Regions from separate parts of the Homo sapiens genome. Here region 1 is linked to region 2. The links are contacts of gene promoters, found by promoter capture Hi-C in human tissues and cell types (Jung and others, 2019). All regions are on one chromosome and are shown on one strand. Each heading gives the region's core, a stretch centred on a gene start or on the middle of the fragment in contact. The rest is flanking DNA. Distances are from core to core; before and after follow the strand shown. Region 1 holds the start of TMEM161A (transmembrane protein 161A). Region 2 holds the start of CERS1 (ceramide synthase 1).

What was found. The method cuts DNA at HindIII sites, captures the fragments that hold promoters and counts their contacts. A contact is called where the count stands out against the background at its distance.
Region 1: the fragment with the promoter of TMEM161A here is called in contact with the fragment with the promoter of CERS1 in region 2 in 1 of the 25 tissues and cell types used here (lymphoblastoid cells).

Annotation. Positions count from the first base shown.
Region 1 is chr19:19,135,593-19,143,067 of GRCh38, reverse strand. It overlaps TMEM161A (transmembrane protein 161A), which reads left to right and starts at 4,590. Exons shown (of 12, transcript NM_017814.3): 1 at 4,590-4,642. The coding sequence starts at 4,640. RefSeq lists enhancers at 4,183-4,372, 4,653-4,862, 4,347-5,208 and a silencer at 4,513-4,592. The HindIII fragment of the contact is 19,527 bases long and covers 243-7,475 here.
Region 2 is chr19:18,894,522-18,901,198 of GRCh38, reverse strand. CERS1 (ceramide synthase 1) reads left to right here and starts at 5,041. Exons shown (of 8, transcript NM_021267.5): 1 at 5,041-5,375. The coding sequence starts at 5,127. GDF1 (growth differentiation factor 1) reads left to right here and starts at 5,041. Exons shown (of 8, transcript NM_001492.6): 1 at 5,041-5,375. COPE (coat protein complex I subunit epsilon) reads left to right here. Exons shown (of 10, transcript NM_007263.4): 8 at 750-818; 9 at 1,252-1,326; 10 at 1,473-1,685. The coding sequence ends at 1,520. RefSeq lists a silencer at 5,991-6,040. The HindIII fragment of the contact is 24,852 bases long and covers 1-6,677 here.

The sequences.
Region 1 (7,475 bases), core at 3,341-5,840, 240 kb before region 2:
GCCCGGGAAGTCAAGGCTGCAGTGAGCCATGATTGAGCCACTGCACTCCAGCCTGGGCAACAGAGCAAAAGACCCCGTCTCAAAGAGTAAAAAAACAAAAACAAAAACAGGCCGGGCATGGTGGCTCACACCTGTAATCCCAGCACTTTGGGAGGCTGAGGCAGGTGGATCACTTGAGGTCAGGAGTTCGAGACCAGCCTGACCAATGTGGTGAAACCTCGTCTCTATTAAAAATACGAAAATTAGCCGGGCATGGTAGTGTGTGCCTGTAGTCCCAGATACTCAGGAGGCTGAGGCAGGAGAATCACTTGAACCCGGGAAGTGGAGGTTGCAGTGAGCCGAAATCGCGCCACTGCACTCCAGCCTGGGCAACAGAGCAAGACTCTATCTCAAAAACCAAACAAACAAACAAACTCACCTGCTTTCCAATCACTCTGCCAAGATCCAAAGCTGAGCTGGTTGGCACAGCTCAGCCAGAATGGGCGGGGTACGTTGACTGACAATTTCAAAATCCTTTCTGTCACTCAGCGCCCCAGGGAGAGATTTCTTCAGTAAAACTGAGCACCTTGCATTTCACCCTTAGCGCACACAGTCCTAGACAAGATGATGGGCGGGACGCCTTTTAAGGGATAGGGAGACTGGACAAAGTATATAAGTGACAGAACCCGGAGGGGGCACTTGTTTATACGGCGGAGTATAGGATGCCATCTGCACCCCAGACCCCAGCTAAGGTTTGTCCTACGTCATCTTCGCCACCCTCATCCCCAGTGAGGTGGGGGCTTTGGGGCCCCAGTTTCCAGGATAGGGATATGGCATGATCAAAGTGTGTAAAAGCCCCTCCCCAGGCTCCCGTGGCAGGGGGCATTGGGAGCTGAGGGGAGGCAGTGCCCCCTGGAATGATCACTCTCTGTGTGTGCGTGGAGGCAAACCCACCAGGACTCCAGAACGGCTCGGAGGTGGAGGTGAAGGGAAGAGCGTGCCGTGGGTGACTGGAAGCTCCCATTTCATCCTCTGTGCTGTGGAAGCTTGTAGGGAATGAGACTTGGATGGGGTGAACTTGAAGCCTCTGCAGAGTGTCCAAGTGCGGCTAGAGATTTCGCTCACCCAACCCAGACTCAGGTCTTTTTTCTTTTTCTTTTCTACTTACTTATTTTTATTATTTTGTTTTGTTTTTGTTTTTTGTTTTGAGAGAGAGTCTCGCTCTGTCATGCAGGCTGGAGTGCAATGGCACGATCTCGGCTCACTGCAGCCTCTGCCTCCCAGGTTCAAGCGATTCTCCTGCCTCAGCCTCCTGAGTAGCTGGGACTACAGGCATGTGCCACCATGCTCAGCTAATTTTTTGTATCTTTAGTGGAGACGGGGTTTCACTATGTTGGCAAGGCTGGTCTCAAACTCCTGACCTCAGGTAATCCACCCACCTCGGTCTCCCAAAGTGCTGGGATTACAGGTGTGAGCCACCGCTCCTGGCCTAATTTTGTTTTTATTATTATTGGGTTTTTTTTTTTGTTTTTTTGTTCTGAGACAAAGTCTCACTCTGTTGCCCAGGCTGGAGTGCAGTGGCGGGATCTCGGCTCACTGCAGCTTCTGCCTCCCGGGTTCAAACGATTCTCGTCCTTCCCAAATAGCTCGGATTACAGGCGACTGCCACCACACCCGGCTAATTTTTGTATTTTCAGTAGAGATGGGGTTTCACCATGTTGGCCAGGCTGGTTTCAAACTCCTGACCTCAAGTGATCCTCCCACCTCAGCCTCCCAAAATGTTGGGATTACAGGCATGAGCCACTGCGCCTGGCCTATTTTTTTATTTTTGAGGCAGTGTCTTGCCCTATTGCCCAGGCTGTACTGCGGTGGTGCAATCATAGCTCTCTGCAGCCTTGATCTCATGGGTGCAAGCAATCCTGCCTCAGCCTCCCAAGTAACTGAGACTACAGGTGCACACCACCTTGCCCAGCTAGGCTGGAGTGCAGTGGCAAGATCTCAGCTTACTGCAACCTCTGCCTCCTGGGTTCAAGTGATTCTCCTGCCTCAGACTCCCCAGTAGCTGGGACTACTACTGGGACTACAGGCGTGAGCCACAACGCCTAGCTAATTTTTGTATTTTTAGTAGAAACCCAATAGGGTTTCACCATATTGGTCAGGATGGTCTTGATCTCTTGACCTTGTGATCCGCCCCCCTTAGCCTCCCAAAGTGCTGGGATTACAGGCGTGAGCCACTGTGCCCAGCCTGCCCAGCTAATTTTTGTATTTTTTGTATAGTCTGGGTTTCCCCATGTTGCCCAGGTTGGTCTGGAACTCCTGGGTTTAAGTGATCTTCCCACCTTGGCCTCCCAAAGTTCTCGGATGACAGGCATGAGCCACTGCACCCAGCCTCTTTTTTTTTCCTCGTCATGTTGCCAGGGCTGGAGTGCTGTGGCATGATCACGACTCACTGCAGCCTCAAATTCCTGGGCTCAAGCAATCTTCCCACCTCAGGCTCCTGAGTAGCTGGGACTTACAGGCTTGAGCCACCACGTTGGGCTAATTTAACTTTTTTTTTAATTTAATTTTTTTTTAGAGATGGGTGTTTTGCTGTGCTGCCCAGGCTGGTCTCAAAATTCTGGGTTCAAGCGATCCTCCAGCCTAAGCCTCCCAAGTAGCTGGGACTACAGGCATACGCCAAGCCACCATGCCTGGCTGGACTCAAGTCTTCAACACTTCCCACCTGGTCCCTTCTGTCCCTTCCCCACTCAGGAGGGGTGAGCCACGGTCCTCATGGCAGTGATCAATGGCTGTGGAGGTCCAGCTGAGCATGCAGCTCCTGCCACCTCCAGCAGCGCCACTGCTACATGCACAGATGATGCAAACTCTTCAGCCAGTTACCCACCCTTCTGTTCTGAGGACCTCCCCGACAATGATCCTGGCCTTCCTTCCACATGGGCTGAAGACCTACCTACTCACTGGCACCCCAACCCCGCACATCCAGACCAGGGCCAGGGACTGAGCAAGAGGAAAAGGGTCAAGGTAGCGGGTACCCTGGGGGAAACTGAGGCATGGCCAGAGAGAAAGAGCCTTCCCAGCCTTTGGATCTCACCCTCACGGTGGACAAGAAGTCAGGCCAGTCCCTGATGTTAGTGCCCACAGGCTAAGCACCCAGTGTGAGGTCCATAAAACTATGGGCCGCTTTCTAAGGCTGGGAGCCCCCAGGGCCACAAGTGAGACTGGTTTGACTTCTCCATCCCAGGGAGACTGCGCTTTTGCCCTCCACCACGAGGTGGCGTGCGATAGTGCGCTTAGGATTCAGCACTTGCCAGCCGAAAGTTAAAAAAATAAAATATAAACCAGGCCCGGTGGCTCACGCCTGTAATCTCAGCACTCTGGGAGGCCGACGTGGGCGGATCACCTCAAGTCGGGAGTTCAAGACCAACCTGATCAACATGGAGAAACCTCATCTCTACTAAAAATGCAAAATTAGCCAGTCGTGGTGGTGCATGCCTGTAATCCCAGCTACTCGGGAGGCTGAGGCAGGAGACTCACTTGAACCCAAGAGGCGGAAGTTGCGGTGAGCCAAGATCACACCATTTCACTCCAGCCTGGGCAACAAGAGCGAAACTCCGTCTCAAGAAAAAAAAAAATTAATACACAAATACATAATAAAATGTAAAAACGAAAAGGTAATTACTCAGGCCCCACACACAGGAACCCACCCCCATAAAGATGCTCAGACACTCAGTCATACCCAATATATGTCTACACTCAGGCAGACACACTCATCCACAGAAAGACAAATGGCAAAACCGGGGCACAAACACCAGAAGCCCTTTCCTCCTAGCGGTGAAATAAAGAACATCAGATCCCTGAAGCTGACATTTGGTCCTTGATCCAGCCACGCCTGAAGCTGACACTATGGCTAGTATTTTCTGTCACATGAGCCAAAAATTTTCCTTTTTTGCTTGAACCCATGTTAGTTGATATTTTGTGGAGCACAGCCAGAGTCCTAGCTGATAGAGATGAATAAGGCACTTGCCAGGTGAAAAAGATTGAGGCATTCTTTTTTGCTTTTGTTTTGTTTTTATTTTAAGATTGAGGCATTCTTGAAGGCATTGCAAGATGTAGGATATTTACAAAGGCCTGGAGGTATGAGACAGCATGGTGGGTGCAAGTTGTACTATAGGGTGCACAATAGTGCTAGCAGCAGATTTAAGTCAGGCAGAAGGGTCTGAATTCAGTCTGAGTACTTAGCCTACTTAGTACTTAGGAGTACTAAGTACTTCGTCTACTAAGTGGGAGCCATTGAATGTTCTTGATGGGGGGAGGGAATTCTACTCTCAGAAATGTCCCTTAGGTGGGAATAAATGCTTTCGCTGCAAACCTTTGAGATAAGTGTAGGAAAGAGAAAACTAAGCCTTAAGAGAGGTCGGCCACGCAGGCCTCCCAGACACAATCTTCACTTTGATCGATCCGAACCAGCGTATCTGAACTACAATTTCCGGCATGCAACGCGAGCGGCCTCCTCGTCCCTGGTGATTTGCCGGCTCAAGACACACTGATTGGTCGGACGGGATGCTCGTCAGACCAGAGTCGGGCTCTAATTGGTCGAGTTTCCGCAGAGTGCCCGGAGCCCTAGGCCGGTGGGTGAGTGCACCGCGTTCTCGCACGCGTCATGGTGAGCGAGCGTCCCGCGAAGTGGGGGGTTCTGCAGGGCCGAGGTCCAGCCGAAGGGGTCCAGGGAGACACTGAGGGAATGGATTGGGGTTTCTTCTTGGGGATTGGAGGCTCTGAGGGATTCGGGGGCACGCTGAAGGCCGTGTGTCCCTCTCTGGGAGCCCTGCTCTCGCTACAGGACCTCCGAGGGAGTCGGCGGGAGTTGTACCCAGGGGGACTAGAAGCCCCTAAGCGTTCTGGGGATTCTGCCCTCGAGACCTTTTAGGGGTCTGGGATCCTTTTGAGGGGTCGTGGTCCCACAGAGGGGACTGGGGACCCCAGCACATTTGGAACCTGGTTAAGGCGGTGTGGGGTCCTGTTGGGGGTCCACTCTGGGGACGGGGGTCCTGCAGGAGCGTGGGGGCCGCGCCGACAGGATCCATCGGGGGTCCCTGCTATATCGGGGTGTGTGGAACGGGCAGGGGAGGCCGTGGGAGGTGGACTCAGGAGGTCTGGTTGGCCTCAGGGCGGGCAAGGTTCTCAGAGTGGGAGACAGGAAAGTTGGAACCTTCAGGTCTCACGCGGCTCTGGGTCCAACCTATTGAGTGTGTTCTTAAAACTTAGCCCAGCCCCTGGGGGTCAGGCTGGTGCAGGGAGATGGGGGACTCCCACAACCCTGACGGGACCGGCCTGGGCAGAGAGAGGGACGTGGAACTGGAGGGTCTCTGCCTGGGACCATCCCCGAGGAGGGGCGCTGGAGATGGCCCTGAAGGAAGGGCACTGATGGCCGGAATTATTGAAAGTGGGGCGTCGTCCCAGGCGGAGGTGCAGGACGCCGTAGGAGATGAAGGCACAGGCTCCCGGGAATGAGGAGGGAGGCTGCATTGATTTTATCAGGGTTCTTGAGTTCGAGAATCGTAAATCCAGTGAAGGGAAAAGAAGGAGCTGATGGAAGACTCCAGAAAATTCTTGCAGATGTCTGCAGAGCCCTGACCCTGAGACAGGAGGCTGGGTGGAGGGCAGGGCCATCAGAACATCCCTGGACAGACCTCTGGGAGCCTTAGGTGGAGAGATGCACCCCTCCACCACCTTTTCCCTTGGGGGGTTTTGGGGGGTGGTGGGGTCATTGATGAAGAGCCCAAAGGTCCAGGAAGACCTCTGAGACTCCAGTGGTTGGGTGCAGGGAGGGCTGAGGAGAGAGCTGAGCTGTGGGGAGGTGGAGGGATGGTCTCTAGCTATGCCTGCAGGGTGCAGAACCAAGTTGGGGGCTGACTGTGAGACTGGGAAGGGCCTGAACCACCTGGAAGGGTATGGGATGATGGGTGAGTGCTAGGGTCTCCCAGGAGAGCCTGGAGGAGGCTACTGGTTGAGCTCAGCAGAGAGGTCTGGGCTGGAGGTGTCACCGTGCTGAGGTTTTGATGGGCTGGCTGATTGGGTGGTTAAAACCCTGGCAGGTCACAGGAGAGAGGTCGGAGAGAGAGGAGAAAAACAGACTGGGGGGTGGGAGGGCAGGGTCCTAGGGGAAGGGTGGGGCTTCAACAGCCCTGACCCACTGGCTTGCAGGGGCCCATGGGCTGGCACTCATGGTCCCTAAGTGCCAGCCAGCCAGTCTGCACTAGGGTCCCGGGGAGGGCGAGCAATGAGGACTTAGAGATGAGAAAGATGCCGCCACCAACCTCATTACTGAAAAAAGATTTCTGGTCTCAGTTTACAAGTCACAGGTACAGAGAAAATGTCCTATTAGTCTGTTATTTTATGTATTTTTATTTTATTATTATTATTATTTTGTTTTGAGACAGAGTCCCACTCTGTTGCCCAGGCTGGAGTGCAGTGGCACAATCTCGGCTCACTGCAACCTCTGCCTCCCAGGTTCAAGCAATTCTGCTGCCTCAGCCTCCCAAGTAGCTGGGATTACAGGCGCCCACCACCATGTCTGGCTAATTTTTGTATTTTTAGTAGAGACAAGGTTTCATCATGTTGGCCAGGCTCGTCTCAAACTCCTGACCTCAAGTGATCAGCCCGCCTCAGCCTCCCAACATGCTGGGATTACAGGCACGAGCCACCGCACCTGGCCTCAGCAGTCATTTTGAATTACCGTGCTAGGCCCGGTACCCATCACATTAGGGTTTTTCCGACTAAATTTAGCTTATTTATGCCTGATTAAAGGATTATTTTCATAATTAATTTTACTATTAAATAAACTTTATTTCATTTTGATGATAATTCCAGAACACTAGTAGACAGCTCTCCTGAGCACATAATTTTACATAATTATGTAATTACTGGCAGCAAATGGGTATTTACTGCATTCAAGCAGGAAAACCCAGCTTCACCACAGACTGATTCTTCTAAAACGTTTAAAAATAAGTATATGAAAATGTGTTCTGAATTAAGAACTGGGTGAGAAAATTCCTAATTAAAAAAAAAAAAAGCCTTAGCTGGGTGTGTTGGCACATGACTGTAGTCCTAACTACTCGGTAGGTTGAGGTGGGAGGATCACTTGAGCCCAGGAGTTTGAGACCAGCCTGGACAACATAGCAAGACCCCATCTCTAAAAATAAAAATAAAAATAGGCCGGACACAGTGGCTCACGCCTGTAATCCCAACCGTTTGGGAGGCCAAGGCAGGAGGATTGCTTGAGCCTAGGAGTTCAAGACCAGCCTGGCAACATGGAGAAACCCTGTCTCTACAAAATAGACAAAAATTAGTTGGGTATGGTGGCGAGTGCCTGTAATCCCAGCTACTAGGGAGGCTGATGTGGGAGAATCACTTGAGCCTGGGAGGTTGAGGCTGCAGTGAGCACCCCAGCATGCCACTGCACTCCAGCCTGGGTGACAGAGCAAGACCCTGTTCTC
Region 2 (6,677 bases), core at 3,792-6,291:
GTGCCCCTTGGCCCTGGTGGCCTCCCCGTGGCTGTGGTCACCCTGCATTCTTGCTGGGTTTTGGGAGGCACTCAGGTCCCCCCACTTCCCTTTGGAGCCACCTCATGGCTGCTCCTGTGAGCGCAAGCTGGTGTCCCCCTTCATGGTGGAGACTGAGGCTCAGAAAAGTCCGGTCTGCAAAAAGGTGCCCTGCCATGGGCCGCCGTGGGCAGGTCGGGCTCTGGGCGCATCCTCGTTGGTGTGTCTGTGCTCCAAGCAGACACCAGGGCTCTGGCTGGGTCTCCTGGCCTAGATGTTTCCTAGGGTCCTGTGTGCTGGGAGCCTAGAGTGAGTGAGTCAGGCAAGGTCCCCTGCCGAGGTCTCCTTCAAGGCTCCTTGGGAGCTGGTGCAGGGGTGGCAGGTCTGCCCATGGCCTCGGGGTTCGTTGTACAGCAGGAGTTGAGGCCATCTGGGTCTGGGCCCCATGGCTTTGAGATGTGTGGGACAAATACAACCTTCCCAAGTCTCTGTAAACAAGGGGTCGTACCCCAGGCTGGACTACAGATGGGGAAACTGAGGCTCAGCGAGGCGGCTGGCCCCTTGGCACCGTATCATCTGAGATCTCCACCTTGCAGAGCGGTGGGCGGTGTCAGTCCCACCCCACCTCTGAGGAGGTGACCTTGTGTGGTGCTGCCTGAGGTGGGGGTGACGGGCAGGCATGGGGGCTGGAGTGGCTGACCCTGCCTCCCCGTGTCTGCCTGTGTCTCCAGGATAGTGGCTACCCAGAGACGCTGGTCAACCTCATCGTCCTGTCCCAGCACCTGGGCAAGCCCCCTGAGGTAAGCGGCCCCCAGGGCTCCAGGCCAACCCTAATGTCCAGACCCTGGGACCCCAGCCTGGGGTCCAGGCCCTAATCCCTAGGCCCCTGGGAAAACTCTGTATACAGTATGCCTACCGCAGCCCACCTCCCTCACAAACCCTGTGCCCCCCAACCCATCCTCACCTGGGGCCCTGCCCGACCTGCTCCCCTGAACACCACAATACATCCCCCACCATGTACGGAGGCCAGCTCCATGCCAGCGCCTCTCCAGGGGGCAGGCCCATCCCTCCACCCCCACCCTGAAGGTTCTCCGAGATCAGCCCAGTCCCAAGGCAGGGTGAGGAGCCCCCTGGGGTACTGTGGCTCTCACCCCAATCCACCCCTGTCCAGCAGGTCAGAGCCACCGTGGGGTCCCCGTGTTCGGCTCACCTGCCTCCCTGCCTCCCCTGCAGGTGACAAACCGATACCTGTCCCAGCTGAAGGATGCCCACAGGTCCCATCCCTTCATCAAGGAGTACCAGGCCAAGGTGAGTGGTGGGGATGGCCTGTCCCCGAGAACCAGGCCAGGGGGCGCCTGGAGCTCAGCCTGGGCTCACATGCGCCCTCTCTCTCTCCCTCCACCTGTCTCCCCACACCCTGCCCCCACCCTGTGTTGCCATGTGTCTTGCTAAAGGAGAACGACTTTGACAGGCTGGTGCTACAGTACGCTCCCAGCGCCTGAGGCTGGCCCAGAGCTGTCAGGACCATGAAGCCAGGACAGAGGCCAGGAGCCAGCCCTGCAGCCCTCCCCACCCGGCATCCACCTGCATCCCCTCTGGGGGCAGGAGCCCACCCCCAGCACCCCCATCTGTTAATAAATATCTCAACTCCAGGGTGTTCCACCTGATGATGTGCTCTGGTCACTTTGCTGGGGGCGTGTGGGAGCTGACGCTCAGGGAGAGTCCTGGGGCACTGGCATCCAGGGCTGTTCCTGGAGACCAGGGTCTGTGACGAGCAGCAGGTGTGCAGACCCCCACCCCGCCCCTCACACAGCCACAACCTGCTCCTGCAGGCCAGAGGCAGCACAGCCCTGTCCCCATGCTTCACCCTGGCCCCTAGAGGCCACTGAGCAGCCCTGGTTGGCATCGGGGGAAACTGAGGCACAGAGAAGTCATGCCGCTATCATGAGGGGCACCAAGATTCAAAATGAGAACCCCTAGTGGCCTGGAGGAAGTGGGGGCCAGGGCAGGAAAAACTCAGGCCTCAGCTCAGCAAAGCCGGAGGGGCCCTGCAGGGTCAGCGTTAACCCCAGGTGCTGCTCCTGCCGCCCCGCAAACCCTCCTCCAAGGCAGAGTCCTGCTGTGGCAGGGTCCTGGGGCCAAGCACCCAGCCGCGATGAGAGGCGGCCGCACCATTTAGGGAGGGAGGTGGGTGGGTGGCAGCAGGGCTGGCCGGAGCCTCCCAGATGTCACCATTGAGCTGTGCCCACCCGAACAACAAAAAGGAGCTGCCAGGCTAGGTTCTAGGGGGACAGGCACCCTGGCAGTGGGCATGACCGGTGCAGAGGTCCCTCGGTGGCACAGGGCTGTGAGGTCAAGGGGCGCTGGATGGGGATGCATGCCCTTTGACCTCTGAGCCTGGCCTGGGCTTATCTCCCAGGGAAAAGATAAGACTGGGTTTCCCCAAGCCACACCCAGGCCTATTCATTTGAAACCAGACCCCGTCTCTGGTTGCCAGGGCAGGACAGCAAGCGACCCCCACCCCCAGCCTGGTAGGGGAGGGAAGTGGCAAAAGAGGACTCCCTGGACAGGGACATTAGGAGGGGTCCAGGCCGAGCTTTCTGGAGGGAGGAGACCTTGGGGTGGGTGGGGGGACACTGGCCTCAAGACTGACCTCCGCCCAGCCTTGGGTGCCTGGTCCCCAGCTGCCAGTAGAGCCGCCTTCCATTCCTGCCCTGCACCCACCCGTTGGCAGCCTCCTGGCTGGACCCGCCAAAAAGAAATTCGAGGCTGAGCTGGGGCTAGTGGGTGGGTGGGTGGCGCCTCTCCCGTGACCGATGGGCGCCATGGTGACCAGATAGTGCTGGCCGAGAGGGTGGAGGGAGGTGGCTGGGACTGTCCACGGCTGCCCCACAGGCCTGGCTGGACCTTTGAGAGCATATCCCCCTCGTCCCCCTCTGCCTGCCAGGCAGGTTGTGGCGTTAGTCACATCTCTGGCCTCCGGCTGGACCTGAACTATTGGCCAGGCCAAGCCTCGTGCCCCACCCCTACACTAGGCCCCTAGTCCACATGGAGTCCACGTTCAAGAATAAAGAGTGGGGCCAGGCACGGTGGCTCATGCCTGTAATCCCAGCACTTTGGGAGGCCAAGACAGGCAGATCACTTGAGGTCAGGAGTTCGAGACCAGCCCGGCCAATATGGCAAAACCCTGTCTCTACAGAAAATACAAAGATTAGCTGGGTGTGATAGCAGGCGCCTGTAATCCCAGCTACTCGGGAGACTGAGGCAGGAGAATCCCTTGAACCTGGGAGGCGGAGGTTGCGGTCAGCTGAGATTGCGCCACTGCACTCCAGTCTGGGCAACGGAGCAAGACTCCAACTCAAAAAAAAAAATGAGCTGTATGTATGTAGGGGCAGATGGTGACAAGTGCCAAGCAGACATGAAGACATGAGGGGCGTGTGACTTCAGAGTCGGGGGCAGCCTGAGCAGGTGGCAGAAGAGCCATGCAGGTACCTAGGGGAACAGCATTTCAGGAGGGGGGAACAGCTAGTGCAAAGGCCCTGAGGCAGGACAGAGCTTGGCATGTTGGAAGAACAGCAGAAAAGCCCACAGGCGGAGGGAAACAGGGCGCTGTGAGGGCAGCCAGTGAGGACTTGGGCTTTCCCTGAGTGGAACAGGAGCCATAGAGGGCTGCAAGCAGACGAGGAACAGGCCAACAGCGTCGCAGCCACCTTCTCACCTCTGTGGGGTGAGGAGGAAGCCAGGATACCAGACGGAAGAGGGTAGTGGTGGTAGTGGTGGTGGTGGCGGGGAGCGGGGGGCAAGGCTGTGCAGATGCAGAGAAGTGGCCAGATGCAGGGCCACCTGGATGTGTTGTGGGGGACTCGGTGTGGGGCAAGGGGAAGGTGTGTTCACCTGTGCCCCTGAAGTTCAGGTGCAGGTGTTCGGGAGCCAGCGCGGCTGCTGCAGGACTCATCCCTGCATCCTGCACCTTGAAGGCCAGGTGTGGGGACATCCTGCGGGCTAGGATGGAGGGGGGGTGCAGCAGTGCCTGGGGAGATGGCGGTCCTAACAGAGGTGACCAGTGTCTTCCTCGATGGCCTTCAGTGGCTTTGGGCACAGGGCCTTGTCAATGAACAGTGCATTGGAAAGTCACTTATGGTGGTCCCAATGATGTCACAGTCGATCCAGATTGGGAGTCCCTCCCACGTTGGCACCCACTCCTGCAGCCTCTCTGCAACTCATGTATTAACCTGATGTTGGGGAGCCCCCCCCCCGGGTTCCCCAGGGTCACAGCAGCAAGTGACCCTCAGAGAACCCCCTAATCTCAGCAGCCCCCATCACACCTTTGTCCCAGTAGCCCGCTGTGCAGACCTGCAGAAGAAGATGCCTGGGAAGTGCCCAGGGTACCCGCGTCCAAGCTGGAACCCCATTGCCAAGCTCCTGGTGTAGGGCAGAGAGCTGCGTCTCCACTAGGTGCGCCTCCCAACGCCCTGGCGTGGGCCGTGTCCTTTTGAAGAATGAGAATGTTTCATTGAGCCTACGCCTCCTGAATGCGGGAGGGCCACGGGATGGTCCCAAGACTGTGCCAAGGCGTGCCAGGCCTCGGGTCCTTGAGAAGGAGCGAGGGCTCCAAGAACGGTGAGGTCGGAGCGGGCCGGGGCGATGGAGCGGGAGCGGCGTGGCGTGCTGGAGGGCCGGGAGAAGCGGGGGTCGCCAGTCGAGGGGACTGCCTGCTAGTGTCCCCCGTGCCCCCCGTCACGGGCACGGCGCGGTGGGGTGGGGGAGCGGGGGGCGCGCGGGGCAGGCATGGGGGCGCGACACGGCGGTGCGCGGGGTCTCTCGGGGTCCAGGTCCAACGGGCCCCCAGCTCCGGCCCCCGCGCCTGGGTTTCTCTGCTGGGAAACGGGCAGGGGCGCGGGCCCGCCTCCAGGGCGCCCCGCGTCCCCGCTGGCCGCCCCCCAGCCGCGCCCCCAGCGGGGCGGAGCTTGCGCCGGTCCCGCCCCTCCGCCCTCCGCTCTCCCGCCCGCGCGCCCCCGGCCCAGCTGCGGCGCGTGACGCGGGGCGCGCGGCTCCGTCGGCTACCGCGGGCGGGCGCAGGCGACGGGCACGGCGGGCGAGCGGGCGGTATGGCGGCGGCGGGGCCCGCGGCGGGGCCGACGGGGCCCGAGCCCATGCCGAGCTACGCGCAGCTAGTGCAGCGCGGCTGGGGCAGCGCGCTGGCGGCGGCGCGGGGCTGCACGGACTGCGGCTGGGGGCTGGCGCGTCGCGGCCTGGCTGAGCACGCGCACCTGGCGCCGCCCGAGCTGCTGCTGCTGGCGCTCGGCGCGCTGGGCTGGACCGCCCTGCGCTCCGCGGCCACTGCGCGCCTCTTTCGGGTCAGTGTGGCCGGGGGCCGGGACGAGGGGACCCCGGACTGGGGGAAGCCGGGACCGGGGACCTGGGGCCGCCGGCGCGTTCCTTTCTTCCAGCGCTGGCTGCTGCGGATGAAGGGGTCGCCGGAACGTGGGTGGGGGCCTCGGGCTGGAGAGGCCCAGGACGTTGGAGCCCCAGGATAAGGTCTCTCGGGCCGCCGCGCGCCCCCTTCAGACAGTGCTGCGTGGGGGAACCGGGTAGATGCGGGGGTGTGGCCGGGCTGGGGTGAGTCTGGGACATGGGGGGCCCGAGACAGGTGGGATGTTTGAGACGTGGGGGACCGAGGCACGGCCCTTTCCGGTCAGTTTGGGACCAGGGGGCCCCGCGCGGTGGATGGCTCCGGCCACCGCGCGCTCTTTCCGGCAGGGCCGAGCCAGACACTGAGAAGCCCAGGACCGGGAACGGGAGGGCTCGGCGCACCGCGGCCTGCGCCATGCGCCTCCCTGCCATGCGGGCTGCGCCCCGGCCCGGAGCGAGGTCCGCTGCCCGTTTTCTGCTGGGTCCGTGCGGCGGCGGGGCCGGCTTGCCCGCTGTAATCGGGAAGAGGCAGGAGCTGCCCGGTCGCTGCCTTGTGCCTATCTGGGGTCAGCGCCACCCTCCGACCAGGGATGGCAAGGGCCTGGGTGCTCTGGCCACGCCAGTGGTCGCTCCCTTGGAGGTGACATGGCCCGGGGCTTCAGGGTTGGACTGTGCTGCCTCCAAGAGGCGACAGCAGAATTCCCCAGTTTCTGCGGAGACCATCGCCCCTGCGAGAGAGTGACCATGATGGTGACATTGGCGCCTGACCCCACTCACTTCCCTGGGGAGGGGTCGCTGTGGCAGGAGCTGGTTGGAAGGTGTTTGGGCCTTTAGCTTGGCCTGGACACCCCCGTGGACCAGCTGGTGTCACCCCGCCCGTCTGGCTGGAGGGTGCAGGGACAATGTGCCCAGCGCCAACAAAGGGGCCTTTCTCTGCTGGCCGGGAAGAGGCTGGCCCTTGTGAGGTCGATGATGGGATGTTGTCTGACTGCCACTCTCCCCACTCCCGTCCCCATATCACCCACATGAGGGAGAGACCCCAGCCACACCCCTACTGTGGGAGGGGGAGACAGGGCTGTCCAGGGCCCCTCCCTGGGTCCGCAGTGGTCTTTATCCTGCTTGTTGCCCCTGCCTTCTTCCCAGTTTCCAGCTGGGAAGCCCGAGACCCAGGAGGGCAAGCCGTCCCCCACCCCTGCGGGACAGGAGGATGTGGCGGCTGGTAGACTACCAGGGCCGAGCCCCGGGGG